Regions from separate parts of the Homo sapiens genome. Here region 1 is linked to region 2. The links are contacts of gene promoters, found by promoter capture Hi-C in human tissues and cell types (Jung and others, 2019). All regions are on one chromosome and are shown on one strand. The core of a region is centred on a gene start or on the middle of the fragment in contact, and the rest is flanking DNA. Distances in the headings are between cores, read along the strand shown.

Evidence for each region. Contacts are between HindIII fragments. The study calls those that stand out against the background at their distance.
Region 1: a contact is called between a fragment that was not itself captured here and the fragment with the promoter of NTM in region 2, in 2 of the 25 tissues and cell types used here (dorsolateral prefrontal cortex and hippocampus).

Annotation. Positions count from the first base shown.
Region 1 is chr11:131,587,674-131,594,648 of GRCh38, reverse strand. All of the region lies in intron 1 of NTM (neurotrimin), which reads right to left. Among named protein-coding and RNA genes, the nearest start is that of NTM-AS2, 50 kb to the right of the region's middle. The HindIII fragment of the contact is 4,760 bases long and covers 2,656-6,975 here.
Region 2 is chr11:131,367,670-131,375,508 of GRCh38, reverse strand. It overlaps NTM (neurotrimin), which reads right to left and starts at 4,894. Exons shown (of 9, transcript NM_001352005.2): 1 at 4,621-4,894. The coding sequence starts at 4,702. RefSeq lists an enhancer at 769-1,431. The HindIII fragment of the contact is 4,341 bases long and covers 4,490-7,839 here.

The DNA.
Region 1 (6,975 bases), core at 3,786-6,285, 220 kb before region 2:
GGTAAGAGGACGGCTTGAGCCCCGTAGTTGGAGAACAGCCTGGGCAATATAGTAAGACCCCATCTCAAGAATTTTTTTTTTTTTAATTTAGCTGGGCGCGGTGGTCTGCACTGTAGTCACAGCTACTTGGGAGGCTGAGGTGGGAGAATCACTTGAGCTTGGGAGGCGGAGGTTGCAGTGAGCTGAAATCTCACCACTGCATTCCAGCCTGGGTGACAGAGCAAGACCCTGTCTTAAAAAAAATTGGTAAACTTTCCTTTTGTTATAAATGTAATATGAGAATGTTACATAAGATTTTGGGGGAAAGGAGCTAAAGAGAACCAACTCCTAATATACTCAACTAATGCAAGCACTCAGTTCTTGGTACAGGACAGTTGTATTGGATTTCAAAAAATCTACAGGACTTAGCATAAATTCTTTCCCAGGTCCTCCCCAGTGCCAAATTATTACAAATGACAAATGAATTAGACCTATTAGTGTGTATTACTTTCCTTGAATCCAATTGTCATGAGATACATACTGAGTTTTCCTGACTTCTAACTTTGTCTAGAACAACCATCCTTATGCATTTAGAGGCAAACAATCATCCATGTTCCTCAGAAACAAGACTATATAAGGCTGGTGCACAGAATTTAGCAATCTCTGGGCAGCAACCTGACCAAATATTGCCTCTGAATGCATTCATCCTAACAAATCCATGTAAAAGATCCACTGGGCACCATGCAGGCACCACAAGGGGGAAATAAAATGAAATACAGGCCTTGCTTTCAGAGTGCTTACAGTCTAGTAGCAGACAGAAGACAGACAAACAGATAATCATAAAGCAACCTGCCAAGTGCAGAAACTGATATGTCCAGAGACACAGACAAACATGATCCTCGTGAGGCCACAGAATGTGGCGCAAAAGAAAATACAACAAAATACAAGAGGTTTTAGAACTAGATTGAGTGAATTTTAAATCTCAGCTTTGCCCACGTACTATCAGCTGAATGACCTTTGACTAGGTACTTGGGTTCAGTTTTCTCATCTATGAAGCAGAGGTGATAACGGCTTTTACAAAGCTCTAATGGGGAATAAATGGGGTAACGTGTCATCCACTTAGAACAGTGCATGCTATGGCAGGGGGGCGGGGCAGGGGAGCCTTTACACTTGGCTTGTTTGAGATCCACAGGCAGAGTTGCCTTGAGCCCATGGACCCTGGTGAGGCTCAGTCCCCTGCCTGACACGATGGGTTGGGAAGTCCCAGCCAGCAGCCTGTCTCCAGAAGATGCTCGTACCCCACCTGCTGAGAGCTAAGCCAGGCAATTGCTCCCTCACTTGTTGAAAGACAACTGTAGCAGGGAAGGCAATTCTCCCTGTAATCTCCAGACATCCTGAAGCAAAATCCAAACTGAAAGAGGAGACCTAGCAATTAGAGGAACTAATGGCACTGGGGAAGGAGAGGTGTAGGGATGGGTGGGGGCTGCAGGAGGGACAGGACTGCTCTTTGCCTATTTCATCTATTGAGTGGAGAGGGAGAGAATGAGAAATAAATAATAGTTTGCTTTTTGCTGCATGTTGGAGCACATTTCCTGCCAATAGTACCACTCACAAGGGCAACTGCTTGACACTTAGGCAAGGGAGTGTGCAGGGAGAACAGGACAAGAGAAAATTACAAATGACAGCATAGCCTGTGTCTGCAATTACAATGCATTGTAAACAAGGAGAACTGCAATTCCAGCTGCCAGACGTGGCCGGAGATTGGCAGGGAAGGGCAGCATCAGAGATGATGGCAGGCTGCTGCACATCTGCTCTGAGCCCAGCATTGTGGGGAGGCAGGGGCCAGGGAGAGGGGACCTGGGGGACTGCAGCTTGGGGAGTGTGGCAGGCCAGGGCTGGCAAGGAGACCAGGTAGAGAGAGGGAGCAAGCAGTGGTGGGGAAGGAGGAGGAAACAGCCCCTAAAGGTCAACTTTGAACTATGGTGTGTGTGTGTGTGTGTGTGTGTGTGTGTGTGTGTGTGTTTGGGGTGTGTGTGTGTATTTGTGTTGGGGAGGTGAATAGGAGAGAGGAAATTTCAGGTCGTGGTTGTTTGGCTTTCATCACTACTGCAGGACAAAAGAAACTAGCTTTTTTTTTTTTTTTTTGAAAGACCTATTATATGCCAAGCTTTGTAAGGCATTTTAAATATGTTATTTGAATGATCTGTACCAGAATCATTCAAGCACTGCCCTGTTTACTAAACAAGTCATTACTGAGCATGTGTGATTTCCAGGCCCTGGGCTAGACTTCGTGGATCTTAGGTTAAAAGGCTATAGCTGCTGCTCAAAGCCATTTTGCAGACGAGGACATTGAGTCTCAGAGAGGTGAAGTTACATGCTCAAAGCTTCTCAGTTAGTAGCAGTGTGAGGACTCCAGTCTAGGCCTGAAGGCCCAGCATGCTCTACCACATTTTTTAGCAGAGCCCAGTAATTCTGCCTCCCATAGTCAGAGCTGTTCCTCTGATCCTTTGACAAATACTAAGTTAAATAGGATTAAGTGGGGTGAGTGCGTAGTGGATGCCCAATAAAAATAGTTTCCTACCCCTCATCACTGACTTAACCATTGACTTAACCTGTTATGAGGAACATCATTATCCAACCAGGGGCAAAAGTGCTCTATTTGTATAAAGGGAGGAAAAGAAGAGGTGACTGATTTCCAGCAGGTGAGGCTGTGGGATGGGCTTCCAACAACTGAGTAGTTCTTACCCAGAGCATAACACAAGAACTGTTTCTCTAATAAAATCAGAAACGAAGGGAGGTTTACCTTGCAGCAGGAGGAATTCAGGTTAGACACAGGGAAGTGCATTTCAGCTGTGAATGAACTGCCCCCTTCCCATTCATGCTGGTGCCTGCTGCTGGGCACATTAGCGCTCTGGGTATTTTCCCAGTGGCTGTGATGAGCAGGGCTGAGCCATCCACACTCTCAAGCTTCCTCCATGTGACTGACAGAACCTATCTACCTGGTGAAAGACACACTGAAGGCAACAGAGTTGGGGTTTTCTTTATCAGTGACCCTTTCGGGGAGCAAATCTCAAGCCTTGGCTCATTTGAGCTGGGAACTACCCAGCTCAGCTCACCAGTAGATAGTCTTGTTAGGCAGGGAATCCATGCATCTCCGTGCAGGGTTGTCAGATGGGACGAATCTCAGCAGGCTGGGTCCTAAACCCAGTGGGGAGCCAGGGTGTGCCCCCCTTCCATCTCCCCCAGCTCAGCTCCATGGACTGTCAGCAGCAGATAGACCAAGCAGGCCCACGGGAGGCTTCGTCCCTCCCCAGCAGGGCCTCTGAGCACAGCACAGCTTGTCTCTGCGGGAAGTCATTTGTTACAGATCTGGGCCCCCCAGGAGGGCCCCCCTTTCCCCAGGGACCTTTCAGTGCTGGCTGAGCCTTCTGGTTCTGCGATGAGTGAGTGACATGGGGAAGATGAGAGCAGCGAGCAGAGAACCCTGCGGTGGGGGCTGGGAGGAGGTGAGGAATTTGAGTCTTAACAGCTGAGCTGGCAAGAAATTTCCCTAAGAAGTTGAAGCTCTGGCTGAATCAGTGCTGCTGACTCTCCCAGAATGGATGCACTGAAACTACGCCCAAGGATTTCATTTGGTTCATCCAGCCTGCTTGCTGCTCCTGTCACCTCAGGTTACCCGGAGCCCTTCTCCTGGGAGTGCAGTCCTGTCTCCAGCCCACCTCACTTCAGGGCCACTGAGCACTGCCCAAATGATGACTGGGTATCCACTCGCATGCTATCCCTTTGGAGTTGTGTGGGGACAGCAAAGTTCAGTAATTAAGAGCATTGGATTTGGGGCCAGACCTGGGTTAAACCTTACATCGGCCATTTATACAGTACAGCTTGGACAAGTCCCATAAGTTCTCTTAGGAAGCCCGTTACCTCACCTACAAGATGGAGAAAAGAGCCTTCACATCAATTGCCATGCAGATGAGTTTTAATAGTATTCTAAAGCCCTTACACAGTGTCTGGCCGTGAGCAAGCATTCAAAGAAGGAATGTTGTTGTTATAATAACTTGTAAATGCTGCCAGTGGCCTGATATTGGGACATTAAGAAGCCATCCAATTGTCCTCTTGTCGTGCAGGGGACACCTGGCTTGGCACTTTGCTTGGACACCAGAGACCAGTCCAGTGCACTTCCTCTGGCCCTATCTCTGGGATCTGCTTTGCACTGTTTTCTGCCCCTGTTCTTAAACTCTGAGGCTGTTACTTTGGGCTTCCAGCATGTCGCTTGGTTCTTCTCCTCTGGTATCAACCTGTTTGCTGTTTTCAGTCTAATGAACACTCAGCTCTTGGGCAAACCCACTCACTTCTGGGTGCTTCAGGTATCTCTGCTCCCACCTGCTCCCCCACCATGGGAATTGAATGATGACACAAGCCCCCAGGGTCATCACTGCTGTCAGACAGTCCTGGTTCTAAAAAACAGAAAGGACACAGATGACTTTTGACTGGGGAGGGGACAGAGGTTCTCCCTGTCTCCATGAGAATGAGCCTCCCAGTAGCAGCAAGGTCGAGGGCTGGGTGCAGGGAAGAGATTGATCAAAATAGACTGAAAGACAAATTACATCCACAGATTATCCTGGGAGTCATTTTTCCAGCCTTGGAGTGAGAACGTTCCAGTTCCTTGGTGAATATCTGCATTTAGGAGGATCCTGGCATGTGGCTGGGGAAGAGCGTATCCCTTGCTGCTTTGTTGGGTTTTAGCGCAGAAGAAATATTCTTTGCTACTTTCTGAAATGTACTACTTATATGGGGATCGAGCCCTCCACTCTGTATTACCTGATATAAGCCTCACACCTCCAGCTAAGGGACACCAGGTGAGGCACAATAAGTGCCCTGGAAACTTTGCTTTCATCTCCTCAGCAGTGAGGCCAGGCAGTGACCTGGTGTCACATGTGTGTGCGCATGTGTGTATGTGTGGATGCAGGAACATTTTTCAACAAAAGTGACGAGGAAGGGGTGGGATGGTGTCTCTCTGCCATGTACACATCACCTTCAAACCTAGGACATGAAAGGCATAAGATACAAAAAAACAAATAATGATTTGGGGTTAAATAAGCCAGAGGGGAGAAAAACACTTTGGTTTCATCATCATGTGTAAGAAAGAAGAGGACAGGGTTGTTTTGCCTCTGCAGAAGCTCCTGTGGGAAGCCCTGGACTGCAGTTTCTGGATGGAGAATGGATGTGTAGTCAGCTTTTAATTACAGCACTAATTGAGGGGGATGGCAGTGTGAAAAATCCAGAATGCTAGTGCTGGGAGGACTTTAGGAGAGTCTCCAATCCCATCACTTTATAATGAAGAATGTGTGTCCCAGGGAAGAGAAAAAAGCCCTGCTTAAATTCATGTGTATTATTAATGGTAAGATATTTACAAGAAACTGGGTCTTCTGACTTCTAGCCTCGTGCCTTCCCACTACAACCAGAGCCTACACACACACACACACACACACACACACACACACATTTTTCCAGGTTAAGAGTGGCATGGTTTCCTGTATAACTGCTGTGTTAATCTCACTTAAATACTAATTTATCATGCCACCTGTCTTCTCACAAACCTTAGTGTCCACCCACAACCTACAGGACGAAGACCAACCTCTCCCCTAGCATGCTCAGGCATGAGTCCTCTGCAGCGTGAGGCTCCACTACTCTCCCATATAAACCCTCCACTTTCACATTGCATGAGCCACACCTGTTAATGCCATTTCTCTTTCTTTCTCTTGTTCAAAACCCAAATCACAGCACATGAGCTCACAGTGAGTTCTCTCAGAATCATCAAGCAGTTAATGTCTTTACCCCATTTAACAATAAGTACACATTGCCCAGAGTTAATATTTACATGTAATGTCTTCATAAGCAGATGGAGACCTTGTCTGACGTAGTTTTCTATACCCAACTAGCCTGATGCCATTCCCCATAGTAGGTTGATTACAAGTGTTAAAAATTTGATGATGTTCAGTAAAATTATAGCAGGACTAAATAATTATTCCAGGCTTTTTCTTTTGATTGTCTGTTTTGGTTCTAGGTAGACTCAAGTTACCAAGATGGCAAATCCCTCTGGCTATCACTGGTTTTTGTGTCCTTGCCCTACCCAGATCCAGCATCTATAAAATATAGCAAAAGGTAAATATCCCCATTCCTTAATTCAAATTTGCTTCATAACCATGGCACACTAGTACTGACTTAAACTACATTGCCAAGAAAATTTACAGTAGTGGTCAAGAGAAAGGATTTTTGTTTCAGGCCATCTTGGAAATAATGTGATGTCACTTTCAAAATTAAGTTATACAAAGCCTGTGGCTTTGCTCTGGGGCAAGCTCTCACTGTCTCTTGGGTTGCTCACTGGGGGTGGCCAGCTGCCATGTTGTGAGGAAGCCCTGTGCAGACGCCTGCTTGGCAAGGGACCAAAACCTGCCAACAGTCATTTGAGTGAGCTTGCAGCAGATCTCTCATTGTGTCTTAACCCTTTTATTTGCTAATTGTGGCTGGGAGTTAACAATAATCTGTGCCTCGGTTTCTTCATCTGTGAAATGGGGACGCTTTTAGTAACCACCTCATATGGTGATGTAAAATTAAAGGAGACAATACATGACAATCATTTAGAACAGTGCCTGGCACATAGCAAGCATTCCACACATGCTTTATTACTAGTTGTCTTTCTGTGACCTTGGCTTACTTGATGCTCAGCTATGGGTCACTCTTCCTCATCAGCCTCATCCTAAAGATGATGATTTGGTTTTTCTCTCTCTCACTTTGTATTCCACCAGCCCTGAACTTGTTTTGATCTCTGACCACCTCTTCTTTCATGCTGTCAACTACTGTAATTCTCTCTGTGCTGGCCCCTGTCTTACTTACTTCCTCCAGTTGTTTCTGATGCACAGTCATGAAAGAATAGAGTCCTGGACTGGGTGCAGTGGAGCATTTAAGATACAATTCCACTCATGCAGGTGTGTGTTA
Region 2 (7,839 bases), core at 3,645-6,144:
GCAATGGGGAGGTGATGCTTCTAGGAACACTAGGATGGTACCCTTTGACCCTTCCAAACTGTATGCCATCGACTTCTTTATTACTGCATGCTTTCTTTTTTTATGTTTAATTGGTTTTATTGAATTTCAAATGACTATAGACATAAAGTAAACATGTAACAAGACAATAGAGCAGAAAGGAAGTAAACTGCATAAATATAATCTCAGCATGGAGTTCCACTTAGCACCACATGTTTGGAGTGTTACAAGCATTAATGAGTCCTTACAACACCCAGGGGAGTCGCTCCCCGGCCTGGTGGGCAGGTGGGGAGATAGGCCCGCAGAGGGAGAGATTTTTCCCTACAGAAAACAGAGAAATTTGAGCTTAGATGTACATGTCCCCCATGGAGCTATGTTCAGACCACTAGAAATGGCTTGAAACCTGGAGACCACGCATATTGGGTGTGTGAAGCATTTGTAGGATCTCTGCTGCAGCAAGAGAGAGAGCAATGTGGGTTTTTTGTTTGTTTGTTTGTTAATCTTTAGCATTCTAGTTTGTGAGCAGAAGCAGATCATGAGCTTGAATCCAAAATACTAGGAAAAAAGCCAAATCACAGACCTGTTCATCCTACCCAAAGTGTGCCTCTACTATGATTGAATGGCAAGAGCATTACAAATCTCTCCAGCATGTGTTTTCTGTACACGTCAGAATCATGTGCCCCATATTGATTCAGAAATTCTGCCATTTCTTGGGATGTTGAGAGAGCTCACTTCATCCCAAGGGACAAGTTTTGGCTAAAATCAACACCAGGTTGTTTGGCCCATCAAGAAAAGGAGCCACTATCAGCCTGGCAGACAGTACGCAGGCAGAGAGCAGAACCCAGGGAACTGCCAGGAGGCAATCTAGACCCTATCACCTCAGGCAGGGAACCAAGAGACACACCTGAAGACACTACGCAGGACGCCTGAATTAAAACCAGCGCTATGGAAGGAGGTTACTGAGAAAGAACAGAAGTCAGGGACTGTACATTGCAGCTGATAAGACGAGATCTGGGGGCTTATATTTGGCTTTAAGGGAACCAAAAAAGGGAAGAATCAGGACCAGGACCAGGCTCTGTGCCTGGTAACTAAAGCTGCAGTTTCAAGAATGGTCTTCATGCAGCGAGACCTGCCGGCCAGGGCAGACACTCTCCAGGCACGCTTGAGCGAATGCTCAGACGGCCATCCCCATTGGTGGGGTGGCCTCCTAATACAAAGGGCGGAGGTGAGCTACATTTGTGCCACTGTGCACGCCTTGCCAGGAACTTGCCTCAAGTTGGCAGCCCCAAGCCTGGCAGGCAGGTTCCATTCGATGAGGCTCCCTGACGCCCTCCCCTTACTGCCATGCTTCCAAGAGCCCACAATGCCTATGTCAGGCCCAGGGTCCCATCATCCCAGGCTGATGTTTCCACTTTGCCAGTAGATATTGCTATGGTCTCGTCTGCCACCCCTGAATATCAGAAGCATTGCCCAGCTCAAGCTGCTGCTGGCACCACGTGTGTACTGTGCATGGCAGGAACCTGGCCGGCCTGCCCAGCCGAACGGCGCCCACCGCCCACCTCCCGGGTGCTGCGCGAAGGGGAGTGTGAACTTTGCCGAGGCACCTTTTCCTTCTCCTCTGCCCTGTCTGTGTCTCAGGCTAGCTGCTAAGCGGATGCGGGATGTGAGGAGAGGTGAGGAAATGAGAAAGGTAAGAGAGGAACCTAGCCAAGCAAATCTGAAGGTGTTAAAAGAAACAATAATCCTTCGAAGGAGAAATGGTCGGTTTTCTAGAAAGAGGAAGCTGCAGCACAAGCAGCCATTCCTTTCAGAGGCTCTCAGTGGCAGAAGGTGGGCGGTGGGTGTTCTGCAAGGGACAGCGCCTGATCCAGTTCTGTAGCGTCTGCTCCCGGCAACGAGATGCCTCCACTTAATCAACCCTGGTGTATCTTAGGGCCAGAGCCCCAGGGAGCTAATCCCCCCTCCTGTCAGCGTCACTAATCAGTGCTGATTCCCTCAGAAACCCCCCTCCCTACCTAAGCTGGATCTTGGTTGCTGGTTGGGTTGTGGGGAGGAGCAGGTCAGGGAGGGGTTCCTAACCTGCCATTAGCACCAGACACCTTTTCAAGAGGCAGGAGGCACAGGAAGCAGCAGCTCTAGGAAGAACCAGCTTAAAACAAAAACAGAGGAGAAGAAAAAATCGCCTTGGAATGTGTGCTGCATTCTAACTAGTCCCACTGGGTCAATGCAATAGGGGTGGATTATTGCAGGCAAGACCTGGGCTGCCTCAGTAATTCTGCAAGTTTGATAAGAGATAGCTGGCAGACTTCAGCTTCCTTCCTCTGAAAGAGAAAACAGACATCACCTTTGCCACATCTGACTGGCATGCAATATGCGGGTCTTTGGGGGTCGTTCTGCGTTAAAATTGGGCAACCTTGTTCTATTACGACCACTGAAGCCTGTTCAGGGCTGACTGGGTGAGGGTAGCACAAATAAGGCCATCATTCTTTTTGAGAAATTCCGGATTCGGTAGAATGTGATAAGGTCTGAGATAGTGCTGTCGCCACCACCCCTACCCCAAGTTAGGAACAAGACCACAAAGTCAGATGGCACCTTAGAGAAATTGGCACCACCACTTTGCTACTCATCTATTCAGAGATGATTCAAAGTATGAGCAAATATTATGCTTCCCTGCATTTATTCTGATGAAAAAAAAAATCACGTATGCTAATTTATATGTAAATTCAGTATGGCCCTGGGGCTCCTGGCATGCAGCCAGCAGGGCTGTTGATGGTGGAAGTTTGGTCATTGTCTCCAGTTTGATGTTACAGGCAGAAGAGACATGGATCTCGGGACAGATAGAAATGACTGAGGGCTTGGGACCTTCCCTCTCCCTACCTCTGACCCCTCACCCTACCCCTTGCCTGCTTAGTTTTCATTTTTGCTGTCAACCCCCACAGAAACTGCTTTTCCGAAACTGCCCGATCCTGAACTCAGCTTCCCCACTTCATTCTTGTGCACCCAGAACAAGCAGGGGTGCACACACACGCACGCACACACACACACACTGATACTGCTTCATATTATATAAGAGGAGTCAATCGAGGATGCCTCCAAGTTGATTCCCTTCACTCAAACACCCACCAAAGCCCCTAGGGGACAGCAGGGAATCCTGAGGCCCATGCCTCCTGGGGTTGGGTGCAGCAGACGACATCATGGACATCCCTGCAAGATTCACCACCTTGGACTTCCTTATCACCCGACACAGATCCCTCCTGTCCCCACCCCTTGCCTTCTTCATCGAGCCCCAGTCAAGGGTGTACACATTTGATCCTTCCAGCCTGGTCTCTCTGCCCACCTTACGTGGATCCACACTGCAGCCACTGCAACCTATGTCAAGAGGACAGCAGCAATCCCTAAATCCTAACCTCGGAGAAGAGCCAGCAGGACTACAGCTCAGGACTCAGTCCAGATCAGGAGAACTCCATATTGCAGGGGGAGAAGAGGGCGAGGGGGTGGGACTCCCCATCGTTTTTCACCGGGTCAGAGGGAACTTTCCTCTGGGAATACAACTGCATAGGACTGAGCCTCACCTCCCAAGAGAGGGCTCCTCCTCCCGGAGCCCTGCTGGGCCACCCTGGGAAAGTTTCTCAGCTTGTCTCGATCCTTACGAGTTTTAGCTGTGTTTAATATAAAAGAGGCAAACTAGTTACCCCAAAGGACAGGGCAGGTGGGAGCAAGAAGATTAGTGGATAATTCTGTTGCTGGAACGAACAGACGTGAGAGCCGGGATGGGGTGTGGGGAGGCACGGTGCAGCAAATGGACTCAAGGTGGAGGCCGATTCCAAATGCACAGAACACAGCACTGGGGACATCAAAGCTTGCACTCAACTGCAGCCCCCAGGGCTCCCGGCTCAGCCGATAAATAAACAGAAAATTAGCATTCGACTCTTATTGCCTCTCTCCCTTCAACTTCGAAAAGCTTTTTAGAATTTCAGAGCCCCGGCTCCCCTCGCTTCCACACCTCCGACCCCAGCCACAAACACACCCCCGAACACATTTAAAACTAATACAGTTGTCCCCCACTGCTGCAAATTGACTCATCCCTTGCAGCTGGATCGCTGACCAGAACCTCACAGGAAGCACCTGATTCTTTCTAGCCTGCATTTTCCCCTTTGCTCCTTTTAAAAGCTTTGCAAGTTCGCTGGCCGATATTTAAAGTTTCCTCTTGTAATTTCTTCCCAGTCGCATAAGCAACACATTAGCAACCCTGTTGCCCTCCGAATCTGTCATTTCCCCCTGCTTACATGTGTGCTCCGTTGTGTATGTGTGCAAGAATGTGCATGAAGCCAGGGAGCCTTGCACACAAGCACAGTCCTAACAGGAGCACCAAACACATTTTACTTATGCACATACATATTCCCCCATTCCGGTAGCAGCCAGAATCAAATCAATATTCTCACAGCCTAGTCGGGAGAATGAAGTCCCAGCCATGCTGTCTAAACGCTCTCTCCTCCACCTGCAAACAGCGCAGCACAGCCGACTCGGGGAGTCTGCAAATCTTATAAAGCACACTGTACAATTCCTGGGTCTACCGAAGGCAAATCAATAGCAAGCTCTTACCTTGGAAGAGACACAGAGCAGCCAGCCCCGTGAAGATTGCCCAAGAGATAGAATTGTGCATTTTTGGCTGGATGGTTTTCATGATTTTTTTTCTTCTTCTTTTTCTTCTTTTTTGTCAGGTTCGGTTTTTTTCTTTCTTTCTTTCCTGATAGATTGTGTTGCTCTCAAGCTTGTGCAAGGAGATTTAAATCCACTGTTTTGCTGAAGGACACAACAAGAAAGCCGAGGGTGTGAGAGAGTATGACTTCTCCGTAATTATCTCCACTCATACTCTGGCACTGAGACACATTGTACAATCTGGCCCTGGACAGCCCTCCTACAAGCTGCAATCATTGGTTCTAATCCAAGGATTGACAGAGCTACAACACACGCGCGCGGGCACACACACACACACACACGCACACACACTCTCAGGAATCATTTACTGGGCAAATCAGGCTAGCTGATTAAAGAGACAGGAGCCTGGAGAGATAGAATGATAAATGCCACTTTGCCCCTTCTATATTACTTTCATTTTTTAAACTGACAGTCTCTGAGTCTTCTGAGTATCAGAAAATCCCTTTCCCCCTGGCATTCCCTGGCCTCCTGAACTCAGATTCCCTTTGCACTGGAAAAATCCCATAGCCAGCCATGGCTTATGGGAAATTTTAAAGGGACATTTTCATGCTCAGTGAAACTTGTAAAGATGAGGCAATTTTCATTTGTTGGTACCTATTTTCCCCTCCAATGGAAATATCATTCAGTGACAGCTTTTTTTTCTCTCTTTCATCAACCTTTCTACTTAGTTGCTTTGAAAATAGTAAATAACTTTCTATTTTCTCCTCCTGTCACTTCTGTTTCAGAACATCTATGTTACTCCTCTTTTTCATTCACTTTTTAGAAGTCAATTTCCTAAATTCATCCATGTGTATATGATACAATGGAAAGGTACAAAGTACCTGGTATTTGAGAAGAAGCTCTATAGTCTGAAGATGGAGAACCTTCTTCAAAAGAAAACAAAGCAGGAGTTTATTCCCCATGACTTGGTCAATCCACATCCACTAAAGCAATCATAGAAGCATCTGTGATTTAAACTGCAGCGAGAAAGATTCAGGGTAGACATGCGGAGGGGCTTTCTGAGTGTAAACTTTGTGTAGTTCCTCAGACAGTTGAAGACATTAACCTCCTTGGTGATAGGAAAGAATAAAAACCGAACAGAAATAATCTAATGGACATAAATGATTTCTTAAGAGGTCTAATTCTAGGGCCTGGAAGTTTATTCTAATCTTTGGCTTCCCCTTATGAGAAGCAAGTTAGAGGATGTGAACAAAAAATCTAGAAAATGTAGCTCCTGGCTGGGCACTGTGGCTCACGCCTGTAATCCCACAACTTTGGGAGGCCAAGGAAGGCCAGTAGCCTGAGCTCAGGAATTCGAGACCAGCCTGGGCAACATGGTGAAACCCTATCTCTACTAAAAAATTCCTTAAAAATATCTGGGTTTGGTGGTGCGCACCCGTGGTTCCAGCCACTTGGGTGGCTGAGGCAGGAGAATTGCTTGAGCCTGGGAGGCGGAGATCACAGTAAGCCAAGATGGCGCCACTACAATCCAGTCTGGGTGACAGAGCCAGCCCCTGTCTCAAGAAAAAAAAAAAAAAAAAAGAAAAGAAAAAGAAAATGTAGTTTCTCACAGAACCTTCCTTAGCTAATTCTGACACATTCATACCCCTACTATGCCTTGACACACATTTTAAAAATATTCTTCTAGAACTCCACCGCTAATTATTATACTTCCTTGTAACCCCATAAAAATGTTCATGTATTTTCAAACTGCATAGAAGAAAAGTACTCATTGTCTGTTTGTATTTTAGTGTACAGAGGTGAAATGAAAACATCACTGCCATTTTGCACATGTCTAAGACGTACGATTTACCTTGGCTTTTTTCTTTTTTCTTTCTTTTTTGTTTTTGTTTTTGACAGACTCTTGCCCCGTCACCCAGGTTGGAGTGCAGTGGTGCAATCACAGCTCACCGCAACTTTGAACTCCTGGGCTCAAGGAACCCTCCTGCCTTACCCACTATGCCCAGCTATTTTTTTTTTTTTTTTAATTTTCTACAACATAGTAGAGATGAAGTCTCACTATGTTGCTCAGGCTGGTTTCAAACTCCTTGCCTCAAGCAGTCCTTCCAGCCTTGGCCTCCCACAAGTTTACCTTGTGTTGTGTATGAATAGGGACAACACTGCCTGGAATGTGGGATCTTGTGACCTTGAGAGGAAGGGGCCCTGGGACCTCAAGATCTGGGGACCTCAAGATCCTTCTCATAGTTCTGCACAACTAAGGGACCTCAGGCAGGTCCTTTCACCTCTGTGAACCTTGGCTTCTTGTCTATAAAATTGTAGAACTGGAATAATTTATTATACTCCTTCTCATTTTAAAGATGTTTTATGTTAACTGGTATTTTTTTTCTTCTTGCCATTAAGTTCTAATTCACATATCTATCAAAATGTCCTTGATATCGTGAGCTCCCAATGGACAAGAATTTTATCTGTAGATGAGTCTTTTTGTGCGGTGCTCAGCATAGTGACATGTGTAATTAAATGCTTTGGAACAACTGTGACGGCAGGTGATAACAGTGCAGTGCAGAAGGAAGGTGGCTTCCTTTCACCACCATTTCATTTCTCTCCAGAACGATGATAAAGATCATGGGCCACTGGTAAGTCTTTAGTCCCAATCAGGAGAGGTGGACAATAACATTTGTAAATGTCCTTACCCTGAACTGTAATAAATCTATACAGTTACCAATGTTTATTAAGCTCCCAGGTGTGTACAGATAATAAGAAATTAATCATCGGAGTTGATATTTATTGATATTTATTTGCAATGTGCTAGACATGATACTCAGTGTTTTGCATGCATTTTTCTCATTAAATAATCACAACCTATGAAGTGGTGATATTATCATCCCCATTTTATAAATGAGGGCATTGAGGCTCAGAAAAAGCTTGTCCACAGCCACACAACAGTTAAGGAATGGAATCAGGATTTAAACCTGAGCATTTTCATCTTAGATCAACTTCAATAATAATATCCTGTGCTAAATACTGTGAGGGACTCAAATAGATATCAAGCATCCTAGCGTAGAATCTTTTTGTTGCTTTCAATAGCATATGAGATTATTAATAAACATTACAAAACAATACATATGTTGATACAAAACTACAGGAAGACTCATATACTGCTTT